Regions from separate parts of the Homo sapiens genome. Here all the other regions are linked to region 4. The links are contacts of gene promoters, found by promoter capture Hi-C in blood cells and fetal thymus (Javierre and others, 2016). All regions are on one chromosome and are shown on one strand. The core of a region is centred on a gene start or on the middle of the fragment in contact, and the rest is flanking DNA. Distances in the headings are between cores, read along the strand shown. Region 1 has its middle 14 kb from the start of COL17A1. Region 2 overlaps CFAP43 (cilia and flagella associated protein 43). Region 3 overlaps CFAP43 (cilia and flagella associated protein 43). Region 4 holds the start of SLK (STE20 like kinase). Region 5 overlaps CFAP43 (cilia and flagella associated protein 43). Region 6 overlaps SH3PXD2A (SH3 and PX domains 2A). Region 7 overlaps SH3PXD2A (SH3 and PX domains 2A).

Region 1 (3,877 bases), core at 53-2,552, 130 kb after region 4:
GGTGGCTCATGCCTGTAATCCCAGCACTTTGGGAGGCTGAGGTGGGTGGATCACCTGAGGTCAGGAGTTCGAGACCAGCCTGACCAACATGGTGAAACCCCATCTCTACTGAAAATACAAAAGTTAGCCAGGCATGGTCGTGGGCACCTGTAGTCCCAGCTACCTGGGAGGCTGGGGCAGGAGAATCACTTGAATCTGGGAGGCAGAAGTTGCAGTGAACCGAGATTGCACCATTGCACTCCAGCCTGGGCAATAAGAGTGAGACTCTGGCTTAAAAAAAAAAAAAAAAAAAAAAAGGTTCTTACTCCATCATTTTCACTGATATAACTCCTATGGATTTATTTACTTTGTTTTATTTTTATTTTCTGGAGACAAGGCCTCTCTATCCATTGATTGGTTTTTGAATGTAGAATCAACCTTGTATTCTCTGAATAAATTGCACTTGGACATGACACATTTTCCTTTTAATATATTGCTGCATTTTATTGCTGATGTTTTACAAAAAGCTTTTGTGTCCTTGTTTATGAGAGATATTGGTCTATAGATTTTTCTTTCTTGTAAATTTTTTGCCTTATTTTGGTCAGGATAATAATGGTCTCATAAAATAAGCTGGGAATTGCTCATTTTTCCTTTATTTTTCTGGAAGAATTTGTGTAGAATTGGTATTATTTCTTTCTCAAAAGTTTGACAGAATTTTCAGTGAAGCTATCTGAGCATGGGATTTTATTTTCTAGAAAGATTTGACCTACAAATAAAATTTTCTTAATAGAAGCAGAATTATTCAGGTTATCTATGTCTTTTTGAGAGAGCTTTGATGGCTTGTGTCTTTCAAGAGCTCGTCCATTTCACTGAAATTATAGAATTGCATCATATGTTCTATTTGTTGCAATATTTGAGATGTATCCTCTAGGAAAGACATACACACAAGTTAGGGCGATTTACTTAGGAACCATTAATTTCATTTTTTCCCCACAGAATACAAATCATTAGTAGTGTAGCAACAGTAATGGGCTTTGGTCTTAGAGTGAGGAATTGACCAAGAATTTCCAGAATGTTTGGGAGCAGAAGTGTTCAGTACATGTAGCATTATGACAAGGAATCTGTGCGCAAGCACTATCTGTGGACTACGAATATATTATATTATACATTATTGCAATCATAGTGGTTACCTTCCCATTCTGCCCCCAAAATTGTTAATTTTCATCCATTCCTTTTAGTGGTGGATTTAGGAAGAAATGTGACTCATTTGTTGGCCAATGGTACATGAGGAAAAGTGTTTTCAGGATGTTTAGGAGAAGTTTATTGCTTCTAAGGAGAAAAAGCAGAAACAGCCATTTTCTTTTTCAGGACATTGGTACATCTGCATGTGATGTGGACGTGCTAATGCATTACACTCACAAGGGTATCACCACAGTGAGGAGATGAGGATTGAAAACATCCTTGCTCCTCAATGACAACATTGAGAGCCTGAATAAACAACCATGGGACTACCCTACCTCTGGATTCTTTGTGTGTGAGATAATAAACTTCCTTATCATTTAAGCCAATTTGAGTTGGTATTTTCAGTTATTAAATTTGAAAGCATCCTCACTGGTTCATAATAATAAGTAATAGTATGCTCCAAATATATGTAGGTACTGTTATGAATAATAAACACAAATTCATTTAAAGTGTTACTGGAGTTGGAGTAGCGCCCTGGCATTGCCTAATTTTTCAATCAATTGATTACAGAAGTACAAGTTACATCAAAATATATCAAGTTACATGCAAAATATTTTGACTTCACAGAGAGGTATTCACATTTACAAAGGCTGAGAGTGATTCACCCCATATATAAAGACTATAACTTCCTCTTGATAAAGGCCACGTAGACACCCACGACTTAAAAGTACTATGAAGAGATTACTCTCAGAAGATATTAGGAGCTTTGAGAGTAATTTTAGTAAAAGTGGGCATAATTCTAATATTAATATCATAAAATATTAGAGCTCAAGGAGACCTTACAGATTACCTAGTTTGGGTCACCTAGTTTGCAAAATGAGAAGGTAAACTAAATAATGTGCTGAGGGTAGTTAATGGCAGAGTCAGGACTAGTATGAAAGCTTTTTGTTTGCTTGATCGTTTTTCCTATGCCATTCTGTAAAATTGTTTAAAATAATTTTCCAGGCTCTTAGCTATCCTAAATCATGAGGAGCTTAAAGAATTATCAAAAATTTACAGAGCAAATCTATGCCACTAAAATGCTGTGCAAGTTTCAGCAATTCTCAGTGAAATGTGATAGTGATGATGAACTTAAATAGAATAACCCTGTTCTGGTTTTTTTGTTTGTATGTTTTTTGTTTTTGAGACAGGGTCTTGCTTTGTCACCCAGGCTGGAGTGCAGTGGTGTGATCATGGCTCACTGCAGCCTTGACTGCCTGGGCTCAAGCAATTCTTCTCCCACTTCAGCCTCCTGAGTAGCTGGAACCACAGATATGTGTCACCATGCCAGCTAATTTTTTTTATTATTTGTAGGGATGAGGTCTTGCTATATTGCCCAGGCTAGTCTTGAACTCCTGGGCTAAAACAATCCTCTTGCCTTGGCCTCCCAAAGTATTAGGATTACAAGCATGAGCCACTGCACCCAGACAGAATAATCCTATTCTTGATGGTCTTTACCATCCACTCATTCCTCTTGGAAGTAAGAACGAGGCTCAGCTAGCCTATATACTTACAGAATACTTGGCAGCATAGTTAGGATGGCACGTAATAAAATATACTTCATAAGGTAATGTTTTTTGCCATATACCATACATTAATCAGATTGTGTTCATTTCATCAATGTTACGTGAAACAGCAACAGCAGGAAGAGTACCTGAAATGAGATACTAACATTTAAAATAAAATGTTATTATTTTGGAATATCTCAAATCCTCCCTCTTTGGCCTGCAGCTAACATACTTAATTAAATTTTTAAATGAGCTAAATATCATAAACGTTCAATAAGCAATTCTTCTCTCTTCCTAGAACAAACAAGAAGCAACATTAACTTCAAGATAAGTATTTATAATCATCTTGTGGAACTTGCAAGAATATCCTAAATAAGGTTCAAGAAGTGATTCATAACATATGACCATAATTTAAATTACACATTTTAATATGTAATTTTGAAACCAAGTGAACAATCTAAATTGAAAACCTGGAGAAACAAACCCAGACATCACTGGGAAAAGATATCCCAGTTGACTGCAGCTGTATGGATTTACCCCATGTGGAACTCCATGCCAGTGTGCAACGCTGTTTGTTTTTTTAGCAATAACTTGTGAGTAGAGGACAATGTCCTTGCCACAGAAAAAGCACAAAAGGGGAGTTTTCCTTTAAAGGGCTAAAAATGCACCAAGTATTTGTCTTTTGGGTTTCTATTTTTAGTTTGTCTAGGTTAACTCAGGCAGCTGAGGAAGGACTGGGAGAACCAAGCTGTTTATGTAAATCTTAATTTACTTAATTGGCTTATGAGGATTTTTTAGGCTAGGAGGAATAGACACAAATGGATGGCTGATGAAAAGCATGGGAGTTTTCTCTGATGCTCACACAAATAGAGTTGGGGTGGGGTAGGGTGGGAGAATTTCCATTAGCTCCAAGATCTGAAAAGTTAATGGTCAAAGGGATTTCATCACAAAGACTGAAAAGTGTTTCTGAAGTAGAAAGTTAATTTCATTAGATCTCACAAGATAGAAAACTCCATGGCAATGATCTTCTTATTCTCTCAGAAAATTTTTGCAGCCAATCAGACTGCCAAATTTATTTAAGTCTGTACACTTATCTCAGAACACCCTTGGGTTTATTCTTGGGCCTATAAAATAGGAAGAAATGTAAGAGACCATGGGCTATTTTGCCA
Region 2 (4,035 bases), core at 1,445-3,944, 170 kb after region 4:
CTGTAATCCCAGCTACTCGGGAGGCTGAGGCAGTAGAATCGCTTGAACCCAGAAGGTGGAGGTTGCAGTGACCTGAGATAGTGCCATTGCACACCAGCCTGGGCAATAAGAGCAAAGCTCAGTCTAAAAAGAAAAAAAAAAAAAGAAAGACATGACAACTAAATAAAATGCATCCTGATGAGATCCTGGAACAGAAAAATGACCTTAAGTAAAAACTAAGGAAAAGTGAATAAAGTTTGTACTTTAGTTAATAATAATGTGTCAATATTAGTTCAATAGTTGTGGCAAATGTACCATACTGATGGAAAATAATAAAATATAAGAAACTGGATAAGGGGTATATGAGAATTCTCTGTACTATCTTTACAACTTTTCTAAAACAAAAATTTTTGGAAAGGATAGACAACATGCATGAACAAATGGGGAATTTCAGCAGAGGGATGGAAAGTATAAGTTAAACAGAAATACTAAATGTAAGTCTATCTATCTGTCTGTCTATCTATCTATCTATCTACAATAATATGGTAACAGATATTTTGCCTTTGATGGGCTCATTATCAGACTAGACACAGCATAAGAATGAATGAACTTGAATATAGGGCAATAGTAATTACCCAAACTGAAACATAAAGAGAACAAAGAGTGAAAAACAATGAGTATGGAATATCTAAGAGATGTGGAACAGTATCAGACAATCTGACACGTGTGTAATTGGAATCCCAGTAGAAAAAGAGAGAGCGAAAGGGGCAGAAGAAATATTCAGAGATAATAAATAAGAATTTTCCAAAGATAATGACAAATATCAAATCACAGATTGAGGAAGCTCAGAGAAGCTCAAGAATCTCACGCACACATGTGCATACCGCCCCCTATCCCCACCTAGACACATTGTGTTCAAACTGCTGAAAAACAAATAAAAAATCTCAAAGCCAGACACATTAAATTCAGATGAACAAAGATAAAAAATATAGCAGAAACCTTGTCAGAAACTATCTAGATGTTCAGAAGAAAATGAACATCTTTAAAATGAAAAGAGAGAGAGAGAGAACAAATGAACGAACCTGGCAATCCAGTGAATCTAGCAAAGTATCTTTCAACAATGAAGGTGATTAAAAACTTTTTCAGATAAAGAAAAATGGAGAGAATTCATTACTAGCAGGCTTGTACTTCAATTAAGTTAAAGGAAGTTCTTTAAGCAGAAGGTAAATGATACAAGATGGAAATTTGGATCTACACAATGAAATAAAGATCTTTTGAAATAGTGAAAATTAAGGTAAATAGAAAATACCTCTTTTCACATTTTTATTATTCTAAAAGATAATTGTCTAAAGCAAAAAATAATAGCAATATGTTTTGTGTTTATAGCATTTGTAAAAATAAAATGTACAGTAGCATTATCATCTAATTCCCAAATAGCACAAAATCCGCAAATATTTAGAAATTAAATAACACGCTTTTAAATAACCCATGAATCAAATAGGAAGTCACAACAGAAATTAGAAAATATGTAAAAGAAAATTAAAACACAAAATATTAAAATTTGTAGAATACAGATAAAATAAAGCTTATAGGGAATATTTTTTTAGGACTCAATTATACCTAAAGCTTATACAGAAATAACATTAAATGTTCATATTAGAAAAGAAGTAAGGTCTGAAATCAACTAACTAAGCTTATCTAAGATTATCTTTGCCTGAGTAGGCTGGGCCTAAAAAAACGATGGCATACTAGAATGGACATTTAGCTCTGTGATCCTTCTTGAACCTTAGAATTATGGAGGGAGCTTTTAAAAAATACTCATCCTGGGGGTGGGGTCTGAGCACATTTATAAAGTTCTTCAAATGATTCTAATGTGCAACCACAGTTAGGAAACCACTGACTTAATTGAATTAAAATTACTTATGAAAATGGGAGAATAATGTAAAATATTTGGTACAGCAGGCAATATGTTTTGTCTTTAAACAAGTATAATTGGCCAGGTGCAGTGGCTCCTGCCTGTTAATTCCAGCACTCTGGGAGGCCAGAGCAGGAGGATCACTTGAGCTCAGGAGTTTGAGAACAGCCTGGGCAACATATTAAGACTCTGTTTTTACAAAAAACTAATTTTAAAACAATTAGCTGGGTGTGGTGGTGTGAACCTGTACTCCCAGCTACTTGGGAGGTGAAGGTGGGAGGATCTATTGAGCCTAGCTAAGGGTTAAGGCTGCAGTGAGCCATGATTGTGCCACAAGACTCTAGCCTGAGTAACAAAGCAAGACCTTGAATTAAAATAAAAATAAAAAGTATAATTACCCGAATCACAGAATTCAAGTCTTCAATTATGTTCTTGTTGATGAGAATTGCATCAGAATACTCCAGTACTAGCTGGAAATTTTCCAGTTCTACTTGTCCTTGTTTAAGAAGAATTTGGATTGTCAAATTCAACTGGAATCTCACTTTCTCTTCCTGTAATCTGAATTGAAAAGTACTTCAAAGCAAGTAGTTGTAATATATTTCAAATTTCACCTATTATCTGAGAATATAAAAATCGAATCAGCTTAAGGAAAACATGCTGGAGATTAGTGTGGAGAATATTTTCCTGATGATGAGCTTTCCTAGAGGTCTCTCTGAAACCTCTTCCTATTGATGCAGAATTATACCTGGGTTGCTCAAAAAATGGTATGGACAGAAATACATTTATAGATTTTTACTTTAGGATTAAGAAAAGATTGTATAATTTTGACGGTAATAAAAGTAAAGTAAAAATGAAGAAAATAGAGACACTTTTAAATAACAAATCTGGCCAGGCGCAGTGGCTCATGCCTGTAATCCCAGCATTTTGGGATGCCGAGGTGGGTGGATCATCTGAGGTCAGGAGTTCGAGACTAGCCTGGCCAACATGGCGAAACCCCATCTCTACTAACAATACAAAAATTAGCCAGGGGTGGTGACAGGCACCTGTAATCCCAGCTGCTTGGGAGGCTGAGGCATGAGATCTCTTGAACCTGGGAGGTGGAGACTGCAGTGAGCCCAGATCGTGCCACTGCACTCCAGCTTGTGTGACAGAGTGAGGCTCCATTTCAAAATAAATAAATAAATAAATAAAATAACTCTATTAAAATTCTGAACTTATTTATTGATTTCTGATACTATACTAACAATATTTAATATGTAAGTTACTTAACAAATCTATTTCTGGGTAATTCATATCCTCGCTATAGCCTAGATCTAAAAATGATGTGTTCTCAATGAATTTGGGAACATCAGAGAAGTATTTATCGATGAGGCTATAAATATAGCCAAAAAATGAAGCAAGGACTTAAATATCTTAATCACTTAGTAAACAACAAGTTCCCCTAAAGAAAAATATATCAGTTGGCTGCGTGTCTACATGGAAAGTTCTTAGACATCTGCTTAATTTTCCACATGGTTAGCTTATATGCCTTGAGCCCCAAAGTACTGAAAAACAGGTTCTTTGTATTTTTATGTGGAAGGGGCCGACTTAAAACAATACTAAGATTTTTCTGAAACTTGCTTATTTGTAATAAGAGCAACAAAACGTGGGAAAGTTCCATCCTGAATCAAGGTCTATGTAACAAAGCAGGCTTTTTAAAATAGAAATTTTAAAGCACAGTGCTGGAAGGGAGATGGCTGTAAAGCAGTCAGTAGGCATTCTCCCCAGTGATAACACAACCTGATTTAGCCCTAATTAGACTTTGAATAGGTGAACATGAAAGAAAGCTTCAAATTACAGGATGAGTTCATGGAACACTCTCTCAATCTCCTGTTGCACCTTCTCTTCCTCCTCAACTCTCTTCTGGAGGAAAGTTGCCATTTCCAATAAGTCAGCTGCTTTCTGCTTTACCTAAAGAAACCAAGCCAGAAACATGTCAGAACATATGGAGCTTCAATTTTAGACAACATACATCTTTTAACTTTTTAAATTTAAAAACCTTAACAGGTCTATCTTTCGAAGAAAGTAATAAAACATTTAAATTTAAATGTCTAAAACTTACATGGTATGTAACAATTTGAACGATTTGAAAGTATCAAATT
Region 3 (4,098 bases), core at 1,201-3,700, 190 kb after region 4:
CAATGGATGCCAAAAGACAGAATGAACAGAGAGTCAGATTCAAAATGTCACCCCCACAGGTTAGTTATTACACACGAAGGAGAAAGAGAACTTCTATAACAAAGAAATCTGGAGAAACCTTCTTTCCAGTGATCATACTTAATGTTACCAACAGTGGGACTGACTGAAATCTGGAACCTCCTGATACGATGCACTGAAGACACAGCATCATCTACTTAGTATGATTGTCAGAAATACTGCACCTAAATCTAATCATGAGAAACCAATCAAATTCAACTTGGGGGACATGCCACAAAAAAATAAGCCTCGATTTTTAAAAAATGTCAATGTCATGGAACACAAAGTTGTAGAACTGTTGTGGATTAAAGGAGACTAAAAGAACATTACAAACTAAGTGAAATTGATTAGATTTTTTGATAAACACCAATAAAAAAAGTTATGAAGGACACTACTTGGACAACAGGGTAATCTGAATATAGACTTAATTAGATAATCATATTAATATTAAGCTTCTTTTGTATGATAATTTTACTGTGGTTATGTAGAAGAATATTTTTGTTCTTAGGAGGTTTAAGCTGTAATATTTAGGAATATCATGATATCTGTGATTTGTCTCCAACTATTCAGGAGAAAAAGAGAACAAATGTGGCAATATAAAAAACTGATGTGCACAGGTATACATATACAATATATATATAACATATACGTAATATATATGCCATTGGTACAAATATATGGTATATAGATGGTACTATTCATGTAACATTTATGTACATTTGAATAATTCTAAAATAAAAATTGGTGAAAAAAATAATCCAATGTTAGGGAAGTAAGTGGAGGTATAAAATGAATTAAGATTGGCCGTGAGTAGATAATTGCGGAAGCTGGATAAAGGGGTCATTATACTGTTCTCTCTATTTTTATACATGTTTGACATTTTCCACGATACAAGATTTTTTTTTTACTTGAGAGAGAAATTGAAAACCATCAACATAGATTTTTTTGAGTTTTGCAGTAAAGGAGAGCAGAGACATTGAGTGATCCAGGGGGAAAGAGAGGCCAAAGGAGTTGGGTTTTTTCCTTTTACTTTTTGTTTTGAAATAAATTTATACTGACCCAAATATCACAAGAACAGTAGAAAGAACTCAAGCATTTCCTTCCAGGAAGTATTTTTTTAATAAGATGAGAGATGTATACAATTATAGCATGTGTCTACACTGATGGGGAAAATCCACAGGGTGGGAAAAATTGATGATGCAGGAAAGAAGAGGGTAAACTGATGAGTAATGACATTGAGTAGGTGAGATGGGATGGTGACTAGTGCACCAGGAGAGGACCAGGCTTAGGTGGATGCAAGGCCATTTCACCCATAAGAAGCAGAAAGGCAGACGCCATGGATTCAGTGGAGCTGGCGGGTGGATGCAGCAGTAGAGGAGTAAGGGAAATAACTTTTAGTTGTCTCTCTTCTCTTAGTAAAATAGAAAATAAGGTGAGAGTGAGTTGAGGGCGTCAGGTGTTGAAAGTTTGGGAGATGCGCAACGGGTGTGAAATGGTACTCTAGGATCCTGCTACTTAAAGTAGGGTCCACTGGACAGCAATAGCCTATTTGGAGTGCAAAATCTCAGCGTCCTTCCATTTTCACAGAGAAACAATGAAATCAGAACCTGCATTTTTAACAAATCCCCCAGGTGATGCAGATTCGCATTCAAGTGTGAGAGCACTTGGCTAGGGGAAAAATGGAGTAGCATTGCGGACCAGCTCTAAGGACCCAGTTGAGATTAAGGTCATAATTTTGAGTAAACCCAGTCAATAGTTTTTCTTTAGCCACTTCATGGGTGCAGGTGCAGAGAAGGCAGAGTATCAGATTTAATCAAGGCTGGGGTTTCAGCAGGTGAGTACAAAGAAGGTGCAGGGACATGAGGGTGCAGGCAGTGGACTATCTTACAACACAAAACTGTGGAGTAAATGTAGTTGATAGGTCATCAGCCTTTATTCCTTAGGCATCTATACTCCATAACTCTTTGAAATCTTTACTTCTTTCAGTATTACTGATTTTGGCTTTGAGTAAGAACCATTTTAGGTTAAAATACAAGGGACCCTACAGGGCCACAGTGAATAAAAATGTGGACAGGTTCACAACAGATTCAAAGAAGCTCTTCATGAGATACAGCCACTAGCAAGCTGGAAAGCTGGCCTACCTTGAATGATGGTATGACTTTACTTCCTTCTTAGAAGAATAAATATTATTTACTTGACTGCACATCACCGTCTTTTATATCTCTACTGTAATTGTGAGCAATTTTAATGTGACAGTGTTTCCTTCTGATGGATGGGGATAAAAGTAGCAGAACTGCACTGTAAAAACCTTGAATTTGAGTTGTAAATAATGTACTGCATTGATTATGCCATTTGTTATTCAAACCTTTTTCCTGAGATGGAGAACAAATCAAGCAAAAGTATTACTGAATTCAAATAAATGTACACAACACAGAGCAATACCTTGCCGTGACTTGAACATGTTGTATTAGGGGTTCATTGAACACCTGAAGAATGAATGAAGGGCCAAATGAATTGTAATGACACGGGAAATGCTGAAATCAATAACAGCTTTAAAAAAACTATTGCTGTATGTTTCTTTGCTTTAAAATTGGTTTAATTCCTTAAATTTATCTCCACTTACTTCTCCAAATTCTCTTGAGAATTTAAGCTGAAACACTGTCCTTAAGCTATTAAAGATATCGACAAAGTAGAAAACATTTGAAAAGATATTTAAACAGCACTCTGGATATGGTAGGTTATATTAATTATTTGCTCTTCTGACCTTTCTATACTTATCTCTTTCTTCATTTAACTCCTTTACTTTTTTCTCATAATCTTTGAATTGTTTTCTTTCTTCTTCAGTCCACACAGCATCAGGTTTTGCCATGAAAGCAGGTTGAGGAATCACCTGAAGATATGAAGAAAAGCATATATTTCAGCTCAAACGTTAAATGCAGTAGTACAGTAAAAGCTCAGAGTTTTTTTTAAAAAGCCCTTTAAAAGGATACAGTCCTTCACATTGGCAAGGAAAACGACCTGACATCTTGGGCAAAAGATATTTTAAAATTTTACAACAGTTCTTCTGTGACTTAGGTGAAGGTGAGCAGGGTGGGATATACCTGGACTCTTAGGTGATAGACTCAGAGGGGTGTGTTGGTATCTTTATAGTGAGAACTACCCCTGAGCCCCAGGAAAACCTATGTCAGGTATCAAAGAAAATGTTTCCTGGTATATCTGGATAATTACTGATGAAACAGTATTCCTGCCTTCAATAGAGACCAAAACCACTGTAGTTACTTATTTTTATTGATTTGTTTGTGTCTTGTCAGATTGGAAGGCAAACCTGCATTTTCAAATTTATTATCTGTCTAACGTGGTATGTTTTTGGTTTTCTGAGACAGGGTCTTGCTCTGTCTCTCAGGCTGGAGTGCAGTGGTGTGATCACAGCTCACTGTAGCCTTGAACTCCTAGCCTCCTGCCTTGAATTCCTGGCCTCCTCACTTAGCCTCCTCAAGTGCTGGGATTACAAGCATAAGCCACCACGCCAGGCCCTAATGTGGTAGGTTTATAAGGTACTACGGAGGTTGTATAATAGTTGTTGCTGTAGAACTTCTAAAACCCAGGTTTATATAGGACAAAAATGGTAAAACTTAAGTAGCTCTTTCCACCCCATTCCACCTTCTATAAGGATGAACAGAAATATCACCATTCTCAAAATATCTTCCTTCTTGACTTCCAGAACTCCTCCCATCATGTCCATCAGAGCTCGGAGTCTTGTACTGGCATCCTGGGAAAGAGCCAGAATCAGAGAGGAATACTGAGACAGAGACCTGACATTCCAGGTGGCTCCAGAGGCAGCTTCCCACCCAACATTAGAATGACTGCATTTGGGATTGGGGAAGGTAGGTAGTGCCTGGAGGAGAGAAGGGGAAAGGAGGCCAACTGAGATTCAAGTGACCTCTGACCACGACAAATGTGTTGATGGGTTATTAAACCAAACTAGGAAGCAGTATCCCTAAAGCAAAGAGGGTCTTAGGACCTGTGTTAAGCAAAGCTACA
Region 4 (4,269 bases), core at 587-3,086:
GTTCTTATCAATGGTTGTGTCTGGATAGTAGAATTATAGTACTTTTAATTTAATTTTATTTTTTAAGCATTTCATTTTCTCCATAAATGATAATAATTACAAATAATTATAGTATTGTTTTCACAGGTCTATACATTTGTCAAAACATATAAAAGTGCACACTTGCAGCAAACCACCATGGCACGTGTATACCTATGTAACAAACCTGCACGTTCTGCATGTGTATCCCAGAACTTAAAGTATAATTTTAAAAAAAAGCAAACAAGTACTAGCAAAAAAACCAAATGCACACTTTAAATATGTACAGTTTATTGTATATCAATATATTGCAATAACACTTAAAAAAATAGAAGGATCTCAAGGAATTGAATCATCTTAAGCGTCTTACTGGAAGGGGGGTTTTGCTATGCCATTTTGGGGCTGAAGGGCAAAATGACTGGGGGGGCAGACATTATATAAATAGCAATATATACATACATTGTCTCTGCTCCAGATACCGCCATTCATTCATTCATTCACCAGATCTGCCTTCCTATTATATGCCAGGAATGTTGCCGGGTACTTGGATATCTTGATGAACAACAAACCACTGGCCTGAAAGAGCTCCCGTCTGGTGGAGGAGGGGAAGGTAGGTCACCACCTGACGGATTCCAGCCAACGTCCACACTGCCCCACCAGGGAGTGCTGCCCAAGGGGGCTGGAGGCAGATCAGGAAGTGGGGGCCTTAGCTGAGGTGGAGTCACCAAGAGTGACACCAGGTTTACAGTTGTGGAGGTGGCCAGAAGTTAGTTTTACCCTCAAGGGAGTGTCGCAGTCATCAGTTGAGAAGTGGGGGCCCGGCGCGGTGGCTCACGCCAGTACTTTGGGAGGCCGAGGCGGGCGGATCACGAGGTCAGGAGATCGAGACCATCCTGGCTAACACGGTGAAACCCCGTCTCTACTAAAAATACAAAAAAATTAGCGGGGCGTGGTGGCGGGCGCCTGTAGTCCCAGCTACTCGGGAGGCTGAGGCAGGAGAATAGCGTGAAGCCGGGAGGCGGAGCTTGCGGTGAGCCTAGTTCGCGCCACTGCACTCCAGCCTGGGCGACAGATCGAGACTCCGTCTCAAAAAAAAAAAAAAAAAAAAAAAAAGAAAGAAAGAAAAAAAAGAGAAGTGGTCTTAAACAGTTTTTATGTATCTGTGTCTATCTTGCCTGCACACTTAAAACAACAAGAGTAAGAACTAAGATTGAGCGTTTACGGGTGCAGGGGCCGCGCAAAGGGCTTCCATCTATTGTCTCATTCACAACCTTCTGGTAGGGACTATTAGGATCTTCATTTTACGGCGAGGAAACCGAGGCTCGGAGAGGTCACCTGCCCAAGGTCACAGATCTCTCTCTCCAAAGCTCAAGCTCACAACCACCACACAAACTCCCCTCTCACTGTACCTGGGGCCCGTCTGAGAGCGAAAAAGTCCGCTTTCAGGTCCCAACCCTAACAGGTCCGGCTTTCACTCCACAGTTTTTCCCAGATCCAGAATGGAGACAACATCCGCTAGCACAATCAACAGGGTCGTCCCACGGGGGCCGCTCCATCAAGGCCGTGGACTGACAGGATTTGGGGCTTGGAGGGCAAATGAGAAACAATCGTCAGGGACCGAAGAACAAATGCGTCCATCACACCAGCCCCCCGCACCCCGAGCCCCGTGCTCCGCTCACGCGAACCCTCGGGGGCAGCCAGTCTGAGGGACGTAGCGCGCGTGCGCGGGGCCAGAGGGGACGCCCCCACGCGAGCGCGCGGTGAGCAGGGCGCGTGACCGGGCGGGCGCGCAGCCGGGAAAGCGCGCGGGCGCGCTACGGAGTCGGCGTCGGCGCGCGCTCCAGGCCGAGGCTGTGTGGGCTGGGGAGGGAGACAGGCGGCGGCGGCGGCGCCCCAGACCCGAGGGGACGCGCGGGCCTTGCGCCGCGGGAGCGGACGGCGGCGGAGGAGACCCTAGGCTCGCGGCCCGAGGCGGGAGGGCTCGGCTTCTCGACTGCCCGCCTCCGAGGCCGCCGGCCGCTTCTCTCTCCCAGAGTGGCCGCCGCCCCTGGAGACTCGCCGTGACACGGGCCTAAGCCGCCGCCGCGGGAGTCCTGACCGCTCGGACCCGTCGGATCAGGCCGGGTGGGAGCGAGCTTGCGGGCAGGTGCCGCTCCCGGAGGGTGGGCCGGAGGCGAGGCGCCCACCGCGCGGCTCGCGGGCCGGGCTCGGCGGAGGGGCCGCTCGCGCAGCACCCCCACCGCGGGCCGGAGCCCGGGTCGCCGCCCCGCCTTCTCCCGGGACCGCCCGGCCGGAGCTGCGGGGGCCGAGGGACGCCGCGCCCGCCGCCGCCAGCCGGGCTCGCGCGGGAGAGCAGGGAAGAGAAACTTTGCCTTTTATTGTTTTTAGTCCTTAAGTGCAAGGAACTCTGTGTTGGGAGGAAAAATGTCCTTCTTCAATTTCCGTAAGATCTTCAAGTTGGGGAGCGAGAAGAAGAAGAAGCAGTACGAACACGTGAAGAGGGACCTGAACCCCGAAGACTTTTGGGAGATTATAGGAGAACTGGGCGACGGAGCCTTTGGGAAAGTGTACAAGGTAAGAGGGGGAAAACGGGAAGTTGTACTGCGAAGGTAAAACAGCCACTGGCCTGGAGTGGCGGGAGGACTTCTGCTCCCCTGGTCCTTATCCTGTCCTTCTTTTGACTGTTACGGTTCGATGCAACTTTACTTGGCTGATCATCCAAGGAGTAGCTAAGAAGTCGGGTTTACGGTGGAACAAAATGGGGCCTGGATGGAGTTTAAAGAGCGATTGGAAAAGGAGACAGGGTTATAAAGTCTACTCTTTCAAACTTCAAAGGAAATGAGAGTGTTCTTTAATTTATAGGAGGGGTCTGGTTGTGCCCTTCAAGTATTTTAGAATGAGAAACTCATTGCACTTTGCAGTGGATTTGTCTACTGACTGCATTCGCGTGCATGCTTGTACTCCAACAGTTCTGTTTTTAGGGTCCAGTATATATATTTGGTTGTATCTAGAGCTAATACAGAACTAGTTGGGATCAAAGTGATTGCTACTTGCAGTCTCTTCTTGAGTTAGTTGCTTGACAGCATACTATAAAATAGAATGGAATTTCTGACAAAATTTCCAAAAAACCTTCATGTGGTACTAGTTTTAAATATATTTATGGTAAGCATTGACTAGAAGTCAGTATCAGCGCTTAAGCAGTTAAAAACACACACGCATGTATTTATTTCAATAGAAAGAGGCTTGGCGTTTCAACCTGAAGGCATTAATGTTAACTATTTAATATCTCCTAAGGAACATATGAATGATGTCATTGGAGTATTTTCATCCTGAAGGGCGAATTTTTTATGAGACAGCGTTTAGGGGAAGGACCCACAGGGTTGCCTAGAAGTGAAAACGTAAGAAAATAACTTATGTTTATACAGGACTTTGAAGTTTTTAAGTACTTTCAAATAATTTGGCCCCCACAAAAATCTTGTGAGGTAGGCAGGTCAGTATTAGTATCCACATTTCACAGATGAAGATATTGAAATTGTTCACAGTCACATGAGTCTCAGCCTAGACTTGAACTCAGGTCTTCTGAGCCCATATTTAGTATTGTTTTTTATTTTAACAGTCACTGGTAGAAATGAGAGCATTTTGCCTACTACTTTCTTTTTTTTTTGAGACGGAGTTTCGCCCCTTTTGCCCAGGCTGGAGTGCAATAGCGCGATCTCGGCTCACTGCAACCTCCCCCTCCCGGGTTCAAGCGATTCTCCTGCCTCAGCCTCCCGTAGTAGCTGGGTTTACAGGCATACGCCACCATGCCCGGCTAATTTTGTATTTTTAGTAGAGACAGGGTTTCTCCATGTTGGTCAGGCTGGTCTTGAACTCCCGACCTCAGGTGATCCGCCCGCCTCGGCCTCCCAAAGTGCTAGGATTACAGGCGTGAGCCACCGTCCCCGGCTGCCTACTACTTTCTAAGCACCATTACACTTCTGCCTCTGCCCTGCCTCAAATGCATCTTGTCAAAACCCCAGTCCTCATTCTTTATCCAGGCTAAAATATCTACTCCTCTCTGTGTGCTTTCAGAACACGTTGTTCACATGGCTATTATAGCACTTGTCACTTATTACAATTAATATGTTTATGTTTCTATAATAAAATTAAGGGCCAAAATTATGATACATATTTGGGTTCATTCACTGCCTTAGCGTATAGTGATGTGTCTGTTTATTTGTTGAAATGAAAGAATGTGTTTTGTCTGCATAT
Region 5 (3,742 bases), core at 351-2,850, 240 kb after region 4:
CTCTACTAAAAATACAAAAATTAGCCAGGCGTGGTAGTGTGTGCCTATAATTCCAGGTACCTGGGAGGCTGAGACACGAGATCGCTTGAACCCAGGAGGCGGAGGTTGCAGTGAGCCAAGATTGCACCACTGCATCCTAGCCTGGGTGACAGAATGAGACTCTGTCTAAAAAAAAACCAAAAAAACAACACCTCTAACCGAGCAATAGAAAGGTAATTTTCAAGATGGCTTTTGGGCTTAACAGATGATCAGCCTGGAGAAAAGGGTTGGGGTGGGGGCAGGAAAGGGTATGATTAGCAGACTAAGCAGAATGGGCATATGTATAGAAAAGGATACAGCACAGTAGCCAAGAACTTGGACTCTGAGGTATTATTGCCTGGGTTCAGGTGTCAGCTCCACAGTTTACGTGGACTGGGCCATGTTTCCTAACATATCTCTTCTGTATCGTGGAGATTAAGGTGTCTCTCCTCATAATGTTGTTCTGAGGATTACATGAAATATGCATATAAAGTGATGGTAGAATGCCAACAGCACAGTAACAGCCAGAGGATTAAGAAGAAGGAGGATTCAAAGATGTCTCCAAGAAAGAGAAAAATAGGGAAAACCAAAAAAACCAACACCCATGGCTATACAGGAATATGAAGTAGGACAGTTTCTTACCCAATGGCGATTCCTCTTCTATCTTATTAAGTACAGTCACTTGCAAGGTGTCTCCATTAATCATTAAAAGATGACCCTCTTCACAGCCAATGTACAAGTCACTTGTTGGAGTCCAGCAATGCATAGTCGGGTGAAGCAAAGGATATAGATCATCTTTCGGCTTCAGGGAGAGAATAAAACCTTGTGTTAAGAAAACAATCACGGCTAAAAGCCTGAGAAATACTCACCAGAACAACTGACAAAAAGGAACCATACTTAACCCCATAGACGCAGAAAACATAGGAACATTGAGCATTCATCATAATAATTTTTTTTAAGGACAGACTGACTTTAATTTATTATTTGTACCTTTCATGCCCTCATAGCCTTAGATAGTTAGAAAATAAATAGTTGGGTAACAATCTGGTCACCCAGTGGATCAAGAAAAAGGCAAACCACCTTTCCCACTCCAAAAAATTAAACTGCTGCTGAATAGTGACACTTCTGTGGTGTCTGATTGAGATTTGACTCATAAGGAAGAGAGTTATTCACCGTTATCACCATTATTGAAAAGTTTCCTGAGTTTTTTTTATGACATCTAACCTTAAACTATAAATCACAAAGACAGACTTAACTGAAATGACAATAGGATCAAAATCTTAAACAAAACAACAACAAAACACCATGTCTCTCATTTGCACAATACCAGTGAATCTGTGTGTATAAAACAAAATGTGAAGATTAAAATTTGAAATTTTCTGGCCTTGGTATGTTAAACTAGTATTGTATGTGGCTTTTTTTTCTTTAAGACAAACCTGGGCTTGTCTTCCTATTACTTTTTCATCAATAAATATATTTGATGACATTTAAAAATGAATGTGAGTATATGGATTATGTAAGCAGAAACAATAGTTTATAATTCTGAGATATTTAAAAATAAAGGGTACCAGTAGTGTTTAGAAATGTTTGTTGATAATATCATCTCCTTTTTCAGTCCTCTAGAATCAGAAATCATTTTGATCACATGATGACAAAACATGAAAAATTGCAGTCCAATTTAATCCTGCTTTAGAAAATGTAAAAATCCATATATATTTCAAAATATTTGAGTCTCTAAAAGAGATTCCTATTTAGCAACATCTGTTTGAAAAAATTAAAAAGGTAGATGGAAAATAGAAATTAGACACTTGAGATTAAGTTCATGATCTTGGATCCAATTTCTGCCCAGATAACATCTGCCTTTGATTTCCCCCATGCTACGACTTAAAACTGGATACATTTCTAACGCCCTAAATAAGTTGTGTAATGTGACTCAGGGCTATTTAAAGTCCTGTAATGTACCCTTCTGGCATTAGCTATGAATAGATAATGGGATTATTTGATGTTTGTAATTTTTTAAAAGTCCACAACTTATCCATTTTTAAGACCTTATACAGATCGAGTCATTATTGATTCCCTTGCCATTGGTACCCAGGTCACAAGAAATGACATTGAAGGAGGGAATAGAATCAAGACATTTGAGATCTATTTTTGGTTATGCTTTCACTCATTGTACAGACATTAATTAATGTTTTAAACATTTTCCTCACTTTATTTTGCTACAAAATGAAAAAGTAAACTACTGGGAAAATGTCTAACTTAAATACAAAATATATGGCTTTATTAATAATCCATGAATGATTTAGGGTTGTCAAACTATAATATTACATTTCTGCTTTCAGAAAAATTTAAAATACACTGAGTGCACAAGTCCTAGGAAATAAAGATGTCTGCCCAGACAATATATCCACATAGCAAAACTGCAGGCGTACCCCTTAAATTTATACAAATAAAAAAGGTTTTAAAATAAAGATGTCTATTATGAGCATTTTAAAATAATAACTCCACATTTGAGTATTTAAAGAAGGCATTTCATAGCATTTCTCAAATGACAAGGACAATTGCCTGAATTTTAAATGTTTTATGCAGAGTTCGTTATGTTTGTACAAAATGTGAAATATAAGGGCTCCTACACATATTTTCTGCCCAGAAAAACCCAATTTGAGAGAGTAGAAATTTAGGGGCTCTGGCACCAAATACTAAACATAGAAAAATTTGAGTTGCAAACCTTGATGGCTGATCTCTTTGTTCTTCCTTTGCTGCCCCACTGTGGCTGAATGCAGTTATATCTCCAAGGCTGAGACCTGTGCTATAAAAGGAACTACAGTATCCACAGGGGATGGGTTCCAGGACCCCCCACTGATACCAAAATCTGTGGATGCTCCAGTTCCTTACATAAAATGGCATAGTATTTCCATATAACCTACATACATCCCCCTGTAAATTTTTTCTTTATTTTTAATTATTTTATTTTATTTTTTCTCCCATATACTTTTAAGTCATCTCTAGGTTACTTATAATACCTAATACAATGTAAATGTTTTATAAATAGTTGTTATACTATATTGTTTAGGAAATAACGAGAAGAAATAAAAGTGTGTATATATTCAGTACAGATGCAACCATACAACTTTTTTCTGAATATTTTTGATCTGCAGTGGGTTGAATACACAGAAGTGGAACCCACGAATGCAGGAGATTGACTATAATCTCTTTCCATAATTTAAAAAGGTGAATCATTGACATTCATTAGAGGAAATATTAAGGGCATGTAACCCTTTCTCTTGCTTGCCACAGAGATTTTTGAATGAACTAATCTTCACACTGAATTATTTTTATTTTAGTTTAGCTTAGTTTAGTTTTTGAGACGGAGTCTCGCTGTCACCCAGGCTGGAGTGCAATGGTGCAATCTTGGCTCACTGCAACCTCCGCCTCCCGGCTTCAAGTGATTCTCCCACCTCAGCCTCCCGAGTAGCTGGGATTGCAGGCATCTGCCATCATGCCCAGCTAATTTTTAACACAAGGGTAAAGCATAGCAGGTTCAAGAGGGCCAAAAAAGTGGAGCTTCTCCCTTCATCCCAAAGGTCTTGCAGGTGCTGCCCTCTGTTCCCTGCCTGTCTCTTGAATAGCACCCCACACCTCACTTCCACTTCATTTATCATGCTCCAGCCATATGCATCTTTTCTCAGTTCCTTACACATACCAAGTTCTCTTTTTCCCTTAG
Region 6 (3,918 bases), core at 1,032-3,531, 220 kb before region 4:
AGAAAGGAAGGTGGGAGGCAGTTGTCACCTAAGGCTGCTGGCACAAATTACCACAAACCCAGTGGCTTAAAATAACAGGAATTTGGCAGACCATGGTGGCTCATGCCTGTAATCCCAGCTGTTTGGGAGGCCGAGGCTGGAGGATCGCTTGAACTCAGGAGTTCAAGACCAGACTAGGCAACATAGTGAGACCCTGTCTCTACAAAATGCTATAAAAAAAATCAGCCGGGCATGGTGGCGCACGCCTGTGATCCCAGCTACTCAGGAGGCTGAGGTAGGGGGATCGCTTGAGCCTGGGGGGTTGAGGCTGCACTGAGTCATGATCGTGCCACTGTACTCCAGCCTGGGTGACATAGTGAGACTGTCTCAAATCAAACAACAACCCAGGAATGTATTCTCTGCCAGTTCTGGAGGTCAGAAGTCTGAAATCAAGGTGCCAGCAGGGTCACGCTCCCTCTGGCGGCATCAGGGAGAGTTCTTCTGCACCTCTTCTAGCTTCTGAGGGCTCCAGGCATCTCTTGGCTCGTGGCAGCATCACTCCGATCTCTGTCTCAGTCTTTACATGGCCTTCCCGCCCCATGCCTGTGTCCCACATCTCCTTCTGCCTTTCTCTTATAAGAACACCTGTCACTGAGTTTAGTGCCCACCCTATATCCAGGATGATCTAATTTTAAGATCTTTGATTACATCTGCAAAGACCCTTTCTCCAAATAAGGCCAGATTCACAGGTTTCAAGGGTTAGGACTTGGATATATCTTTTTGGGAGCCATTATTCAACCTACCGCAGGGTAGTTATGGGAGAGTCACAGGGCATACCAGTCACCTGACAGGGCCCTATATCCCTAAGCGGATTTCAGTGGCCCCAAGGACAGGGGTGGTTTCTATACTCCCTGAATCCCTGGAAATGTCTGGCATGGCGCTGGGTGAAATGGATATGAGTGCAGCCTGAAGCCCTCGTGGGGGACAGGGGAGTGTCTGAACAGAGCAGCTCCGGAGTCTCAGCCTGAGAGGAGACAGGCAAGCTGTGGGGACCTGAAGCCGAGAGAATGGGGGGGCGGGTCCTTCTCTGGCTCTGAGGGCTGATGTGACACCCAGGAGAGAAGAGACGAACAGATTTCCCAGATGAACTGGAGGAAAGAAGATGTGAGGATTCCTAGAGGGAACCTCCCTCCCCCCCTCAAGGGTGACACGCATGCTCGTGGGGTGATAAGACACAGGCAATGCATGTGGGAGGAAGGAGGAGAAGTTAAGTTTCCTACTCCCACAGCTCTCTGTGGTCCTGAGACCTGACCAGGTCCCTGTGCAAAGTGGGCTGGACCAGCCAAGGATCCCATGTCCAGCTGCCCTCACCAGGCGCCTCCATCCGTGTTGTTTGCTGACAGATTGATGAAGACAGAAGCTCTTAAATGAAGGGCCCTGGGCAGGGGAGGGCAGAGAGAATATAACCATGATTCCACTAATGGGGCTTTCTTCACCATTAAAAACAAAACACAAACGACCCCTCTTTCATTCTAAGTCTGTTTGATTTCAGAGAGGCTGTTACCAACCCCCAACTCACCGAGTCACTGAGGCTCGGTGATCCAAGCTGGTCCAAGGAGAAGCAGACTGGGACTCTTTTTTTGTTTGTTTTTGAGAGAGGATCTCATCTGCCACCCAGGCTGGAGTGCAGTGACTCTATCATGGCTCACTTCAGCCTTGAACTCCTGGGCTTAAGTGATCCTCCCACCTCAGCCTCCGAAGTAACAGGTGCACACAACACCCGACTACATTTTTATAGTGATGGGGTCTTGTTATGTTGCCTAGGCTGGTCCCGAACTCCTGGTCTTAAGTGATCTTCTTGCCTCAGCCTCCCAAAAGGCTGGGAGTATAGGCCTGAGCCACTGCACCTGGCCCAGGCTGGGACTTTTGATGGTTTAAAGCAAGCAGACACCAAGAGGGTATGCCCTGGGCCCTAAGAATACCCAACTCTAAAAACAAACAAACTCACAATCTACTTCTTTGATGCCTGAGATTGCAGAATCAGAATTTAGTTTCTTTAAGATTTTCGTCAAGATATATCAACTTTTTCCTGGAGAATGGTACAGTGAGCCTTATTAACCATTCACACCTGAGTATGAGCAGGCACCGGCTTCTCACTCAATAACAGGGTCTCGCTAGGGAAGAGAGCATAGAGCAGAGAGGCCTTGATGGAACTGGATGTAATGGGCAGGGGAGAAGAACGGCGGAACAGCCTCTACTGGCTCCCCTGTCTTCCTGAAAGCTGGCCCTGCTCTTGATGTTCAGCTGTTTCCTGACCATGGGGCCACCCAGCTTTCACCTGGGTTAGCCCTGCCTAGGCTAGGGTGGGAGTGGCTGAATGGCAGGCCCCTGCTTGTCTTTTTTTTTTTTTTTTGCGACAGAGTTTCGCTCTTGTTGCCCAGGCTGGAGTGCAATGGCATGATCTCGGCTCACCGCAACCTCCACCTCCCGGGTTCAAGCGATTCTCCTGCCTCAGCCTCCCTAGTAGCTGGGATTACAGGTATGTGCCACCACACCTGGCTAATTTTGTATTTTTAGTAGAGATGGGGTTTCTCCATGTTGGTCAGGCTGGTCTCGAACTCCCGACCTCAGGTGATCCGCCCGCCTCAGCCTCCCAAAGTGCTGGGATTACAGGCATGAGCCACCGCACCTGGCCCCTGCTTGTCTTTTTAAGTGCTGCCCCTGAAACTCACATGTCACCTCTGACCCTCTGCAGCCTGGGGACTGCAGGTCACCTCTTCCCCTGCTGGGCTGCCTCCAGCTTCTGGTGCAGCTGAGATGACATCCCCAGAGTCTACAGCCTTGTACCTGGCTCAGATCACACCCTGACACCCAATCCTTCCTTCTTCACTTGCAACATCTGGCTTTGTTGCCATTTACTTGGGCTGGGGGAAGGCAGGAGTGAGGCCTAGATGCTGAGGCTGGAAGCAGTGGGCACATGCAGGTTCCGGAAAGACACAATCCCCATAGCGAAGGTCAGCAGCCTGAGGCATACTGACACCATGCCCTGAGTTCTGGCTCCCATGAATCTCTCTTTAGAGCCAAGATGCTGCCTCTGGCTTGAAGTCTAGCATGGTAGACATTGGTAGGTTTTGTCTGCCAGCTTTTAATTATTACAGTGCCCGATTTTCTTTTGGGAAACAATCCCTCCTTCATTCTCAGTCCATGGGATTTCAGTGGGGTTGATCCCATCCCAAACTCTGGGGCTGATCATTAAGTACAGTCCAGCCATGGGCATGCAACCCACATTGGTCCAGTGGGAATCAGCCTGGGACTACTGCTGGAACTACCAGGAAGAGATGTGTTCTCTCTCTACAGCTGCTAACTCATAAATGCCAAGCCCCAAGCTGCTAGGAAGCATCTTTATGTATCTCTGTTACCACCTGGGGGAAGCCTATCAGAGAATTAAGTCAACAGAAAAGACAGCAAAGCTGAGGGCTTAAGAGACACAGATTTGGTCCCCTAGATCCAGCTATGCCTGAAACCATTACTCTTGGTTTTCAGTTATGTGAACCAATAAGTTTCCCCTTTTTTCTTAAGCCAGATTGAGATGGGTCTATTTCTTGTCACCAGGAGAGTCCTGACTGGTACATCTGGCTCTGCCAGTTACTGTTATGTGACAGGGGATGAGTCATAACCTATTCGAATGCTAGTTTCCTCAGACTACAAAATGGGAGGCAGTAATGTCTAATGCAAAGGACTATTACGAGGAGCCAGTGAATGAGTCTGTAAAAGCATTTAGCATGGAGCCCAGCCCATGGCAAATGGTGAACAAATGGGATCTCTTATGAGTTGACACTTCCAGGTCAAGGAGGTGGGATGGGGTGGGGTGGGCCCTGCCTGTCTCCTTGCTGGCCACGTGGAATCCAAGTACCAGAAGCATTTCCCAGGCACCCAGTC
Region 7 (3,759 bases), core at 906-3,405, 250 kb before region 4:
CGTCTCTACAAAAAATAAAAATAAAAAAATTATCCTGCCATGGTGGTGTGTGCCTGCAGTCCCAGCTACTTGGGGGCTGAGGTGGCCTGGGACGTCAAGGCTGCAGTGAGCCACGATTGTGCCACTGAGCTCCAGCCTGGGCAATGGAGAGAAACCCTGTCTCAAAATTAAAAAAAAAAAAAGGAAAGAAAATAACCCCAAAACCTCCCTCTGGGATCTTTTAAGGGAGATGGAACTGCTCTAAAATTGGATTGTGGTGATGGTTGCACAACTGTAAAAGTATTAGTAATCAATGAATTAATTGTACACTTAAAACAAGTACATATTATAGCATGTAAATTATACCTCAGTAAAGCTGTCTGGGGGAAACTCTCCCTCTGGCTCTGACCACTGAGCCATGCTCCGGGCCACATGTCCTGGGTGGGGTTTTGCACGTAGCCATCTGCGTGCCCTCTGGACCCATGACCAAATGGGCCATTCATGAGAGAGGGTGTGGGAAGCCAAGGGCTCAGTCTGTGGTTTGGGAGCGGGAAACCTGGTTTTCTGAGTGCTTCTAGAACCGGTTTCCCTGTGTCTGTTCCATCAGAGGAGCCTGTACCAGCCAGGCAGCACCCCTCCTCAGAGGCCTGAACCCTCCTGGGATAGGAAGCCCCTCCTTGGAGCTCCTGAGGCTGGGGGAAGGGTCTCAACAGGCTGCCCTGGGGGGCCTGGACCAGACTTGGCAGTCTCAGCAAACCTTGTACCTTTTCAGGGATGTGGCCCAGCAGGAAACCTGGGTTCCCCTTAAAAGATCCCAAATGTGGCACATGCCTTCAACTCTACCTTCAGCCCCCGTGGTGACCATGGCAACCATGGCGTCCTGATGCAGTTATTCTGCCCTTCTGTCTGATGAAGGGTCCCATCCTGAAATTTGGAGCTAGTTGCCCCAGCCAAGGGTCAGGTGCTTCTCACTTCATCCTCAGCTCACCCCCGTGTGGGGTGTGGACTTGGAGCTGAAGGGCAATGGCATGAGTCCAGCCTCTGACACTTCCTAGCTGAGAGGTAAGTCAACCAGTCTCAGCCTAAGGTCCCTCATCTGCAGAAAGGAGCATGGGCCTCCCTGGATTGTACGGATGCTCAAACAAGATAAACCATGCTCAAGGGTCCAGCACGGCTTTAGTACAGCATCAGCCAGACGCTGGGAGCTGTAATATCCGATATGGCCATGGGGTGGAGCCAGATACACATGTATCTCATGAACCGAGGGCTTCAAAGTGACCCAAAGTTACAGACGTGCCCAAACTCCAACCACCCTCAAGATCCAACTTACAGAGCCTGTGAAGGGGAAGGAGTCACAAGGTCTCTGGATGCTTGTCCCTTTCATCTCGGACTATGTCTATGAATATCTCCCATTCCCACAGCCATCCAGCCCCTCTCTAGATCCTGACTGTTGCATGCTTGGACCACTGCAATAGCCAACTGGTTCTGCTAGGACCTCAGAATGTCAGAGCCAGGAGATAGCCCAGAGACCCCTAGGTTCTGCCCATTTACCTGATGCTGAAGTGTAGCGATTGTTAATGACTGCCTCAGGCCTATCTCTTCTTGGCCTAGCCCTAGCCAAAAATCCCTTACTCTCACGGAAGATGAAATTTCTTTCAATCCTTGAAACACAATCTCAGGGACTCCCTCTGGCCTGGATGCCCTCCTCTGCCACTCTCCTTGAGTAGTGAGCTCTTGCTTTAGTCTCAGCCTGAATGCCACCTCCTCAGGGAGGCCTTCCTGACCACCTCAGCAGGCTGGTTTGTTGCTGCGCAAGGCCCTGCACCTATTACAATCAGTTGTTCTTTTTCTGTCTTCCCCATTATCAGCAGCTGTTATAAGCCCTGTTTTATAGGCAAGGACATTGAGGTTTTGGGAGTTTAAATAATTCCCAGGCCACACAGCAGGTGGGGGAGGAGCCAGGGTTTGCCAGAGCCTATAATGGTCTGCTGCCTCCTGTGGAAGCAAGCCAGGCCCATGCCATGCTATCCTCCCCCTTAGACCACCAGGGCCCCGAGAGTGGGGACTGAGCTACTTCTGAAGTCCCGGGCCTCACATAGAGATGATCTAGAAACACTTGCATGAACACACGCCTCCCACAAGAATGCAACAGAGGAAGGCTGGTCCCAGTGGCCGAAGACCCAGGTTCTAGGTTCAGTTCTGCCTTAAACTCCCCATGGAGGGGTAACTACCCAGGGACTAGGAACATGGAGGGTAGTGATAACCACAGGGGAACCAAGACCCACCTTGAACACAACATAACAGCAAAGCAGGCCTCAGCGCTCTTCCAGGGCTTACCCCTTCCGCCAGAGGCTCCAAAGGGCTCTGTAGGCCTTCCTTGGGGGTAAGAGAGTGGGCACATGGGGGTCTTGAGGTTTCAGAGAACATAGAATGCACAAGCCCAAGAAATTAATGGGGGACCCAGTCTACCCCCACACACTCCTGCACCAGGATACCCTTCCCTGCCACCTTCCTCCCCACCCTGAAGAAAATCCTGTGCCAGGCCTGAAAACAGAGTCATCTTCTCTCCCTGGACATGGGCCTCCCAGGCGTGTGCGCTATGAGCTGGGCTGGACTGGGGGTGTTTGAATCTGCTTCCCTCCAGCTCGCCGACCCAGCATGACAGCTGAGCCTGCAGAAGTCCTTGTTCCCCACGGCCAATGCCCCTTTCAAGTGGGTTGGACACAGCTTCCTGTGGGCATTTTCCTGCCACCTGCCCACCCAGGTTGAAGGGGGCATGGCAGGGGATGGACAAGGTTTATTTATCTAACGTTCTGTTCCCTCCCTCAGCCTCCCACAGCTCCAAGGTCCAGCTGGCCCTCCTGCCCATCAACATAAAGAGGCTATTTGTGCAGCAGCCAGTGGCAGGGGGCTGCAAGGACAGTGTGGCCCACGTCCCTGGCCAGATGGGTGGTGGCAGGGCTTTACAGAGCACACAGAGCCATCTTGATGATAGGTGTCTGACCAGAATGCAGCCAGGCATGTGTGGGTGGACTTTCTACCCCAATCCCCCAGGAGAGACAGGGACTTGGGATGCCCTGGAGTTTCCAACAGCCTGCAGGGTGGTAGGGGCAGCCTCGCTCCACAGGCAGCACCAGCCCTGGCCAGGACTCCCAGAGCAGAGAGGGATGCGGTGAGATGCTCCTCTCCCAGCTCTCACCTTCAGCTCGGCCAACCCAATTCCATTCCCCCAGCCTTTTTGGGGTGGCTGCTCTGTACCCAGGCCTGGGCTAATGGAGGAAAGGAGAAGAAAAACAGAAAATCCCATTTCCTGAGCTTTTGTGATGGGTTAAGTACATAGGGGCATTTTCTACGCATTTGCTCCCTTGAACCTCACAATCATTTTGCCACATGTACCACGGGGGCCTTGCACAGATGGGGAAACAGACTGGAAGAGGAGAAGTGAGCCATTCAAGCTCACAGGCAGAGCTGGGTGTCCCCACAGTTGCCACTGCAGTTAATTTAACTCAATTCACAATTTCAGCTTTGACCCTTGAGGTGATTAGCCTACGCGGTCCCTGGCATACAGCTGGCACTCAGTAACTACCTGCAGAGTGAAGGGAGGCTGCTGTGGAGAGGTTCCAGGGCTCTGTCCACAACCTTCCATTTGCCTCCTAGGAAAAGGAAGGGAGTAGGAGGGTGTATGACTCAGTGCCCAGTTTGTGATCCACACGCATCATCCCAATTCATTCTCCCCAGTGCCGGAGCAGTGACTCCGGGTGACTTACAGAGAATGGAAGG

The links. Contacts are between HindIII fragments. The CHiCAGO score rates a contact against its expected background, and 5 or more counts as called.
Region 1: a contact is called between a fragment that was not itself captured here and the fragment with the promoter of SLK in region 4, in 9 of 17 cell types (activated CD4 T cells, total B cells, fetal thymus and 6 more). The highest score is 8.5, in activated CD4 T cells.
Region 2: a fragment that was not itself captured here is called in contact with the fragment with the promoter of SLK in region 4 in 16 of 17 cell types (total B cells, naive B cells, activated CD4 T cells and 13 more); the score reaches 11.4 in total B cells.
Region 3: a contact is called between a fragment that was not itself captured here and the fragment with the promoter of SLK in region 4, in 1 of 17 cell types (activated CD4 T cells). The highest score is 5.1, in activated CD4 T cells.
Region 5: a fragment that was not itself captured here is called in contact with the fragment with the promoter of SLK in region 4 in 7 of 17 cell types (naive CD4 T cells, total CD4 T cells, activated CD4 T cells and 4 more); the score reaches 8.9 in naive CD4 T cells.
Region 6: a contact is called between a fragment that was not itself captured here and the fragment with the promoter of SLK in region 4, in 2 of 17 cell types (non-activated CD4 T cells and total CD4 T cells). The highest score is 5.9, in non-activated CD4 T cells.
Region 7: a contact is called between a fragment that was not itself captured here and the fragment with the promoter of SLK in region 4, in 7 of 17 cell types (M1 macrophages, naive CD8 T cells, M2 macrophages and 4 more). The highest score is 9.2, in M1 macrophages.

The regions. Positions count from the first base shown.
Region 1 is chr10:104,097,689-104,101,565 of GRCh38, forward strand. No RefSeq gene overlaps it. Among named protein-coding and RNA genes, the nearest start is that of COL17A1, 14 kb to the left of the region's middle. The HindIII fragment of the contact is 1,596 bases long and covers 505-2,100 here.
Region 2 is chr10:104,138,550-104,142,584 of GRCh38, forward strand. It overlaps CFAP43 (cilia and flagella associated protein 43), which reads right to left. Exons shown (of 38, transcript NM_025145.7): 33 at 3,732-3,844; 34 at 2,293-2,452. Among named protein-coding and RNA genes, the nearest start is that of SFR1, 18 kb to the left of the region's middle. The HindIII fragment of the contact is 2,048 bases long and covers 1,671-3,718 here.
Region 3 is chr10:104,158,216-104,162,313 of GRCh38, forward strand. CFAP43 (cilia and flagella associated protein 43) reads right to left here. Exons shown (of 38, transcript NM_025145.7): 26 at 3,746-3,826; 27 at 2,822-2,947. Among named protein-coding and RNA genes, the nearest start is that of SFR1, 38 kb to the left of the region's middle. The HindIII fragment of the contact is 3,887 bases long and covers 508-4,098 here.
Region 4 is chr10:103,965,304-103,969,572 of GRCh38, forward strand. It overlaps SLK (STE20 like kinase), which reads left to right and starts at 1,837. Exons shown (of 19, transcript NM_014720.4): 1 at 1,837-2,592. The coding sequence starts at 2,443. It overlaps LOC102724351 (a long non-coding RNA gene), which reads right to left and starts at 1,742. Exons shown (of 5, transcript XR_007062282.1): 1 at 478-1,742. RefSeq lists silencers at 1,699-2,158, 2,199-2,248, 2,259-2,358. The HindIII fragment of the contact is 5,644 bases long and covers 1-4,269 here.
Region 5 is chr10:104,207,005-104,210,746 of GRCh38, forward strand. It overlaps CFAP43 (cilia and flagella associated protein 43), which reads right to left. Exons shown (of 38, transcript NM_025145.7): 6 at 661-820. Among named protein-coding and RNA genes, the nearest start is that of MIR609, 10 kb to the right of the region's middle. The HindIII fragment of the contact is 9,235 bases long and covers 1-3,742 here.
Region 6 is chr10:103,741,779-103,745,696 of GRCh38, forward strand. All of the region lies in intron 3 of SH3PXD2A (SH3 and PX domains 2A), which reads right to left. Among named protein-coding and RNA genes, the nearest start is that of SH3PXD2A-AS1, 3.0 kb to the right of the region's middle. The HindIII fragment of the contact is 5,889 bases long and covers 1-3,918 here.
Region 7 is chr10:103,711,883-103,715,641 of GRCh38, forward strand. The region is part of intron 5 of SH3PXD2A (SH3 and PX domains 2A); the gene reads right to left. Among named protein-coding and RNA genes, the nearest start is that of SH3PXD2A-AS1, 33 kb to the right of the region's middle. The HindIII fragment of the contact is 8,786 bases long and covers 1-3,759 here.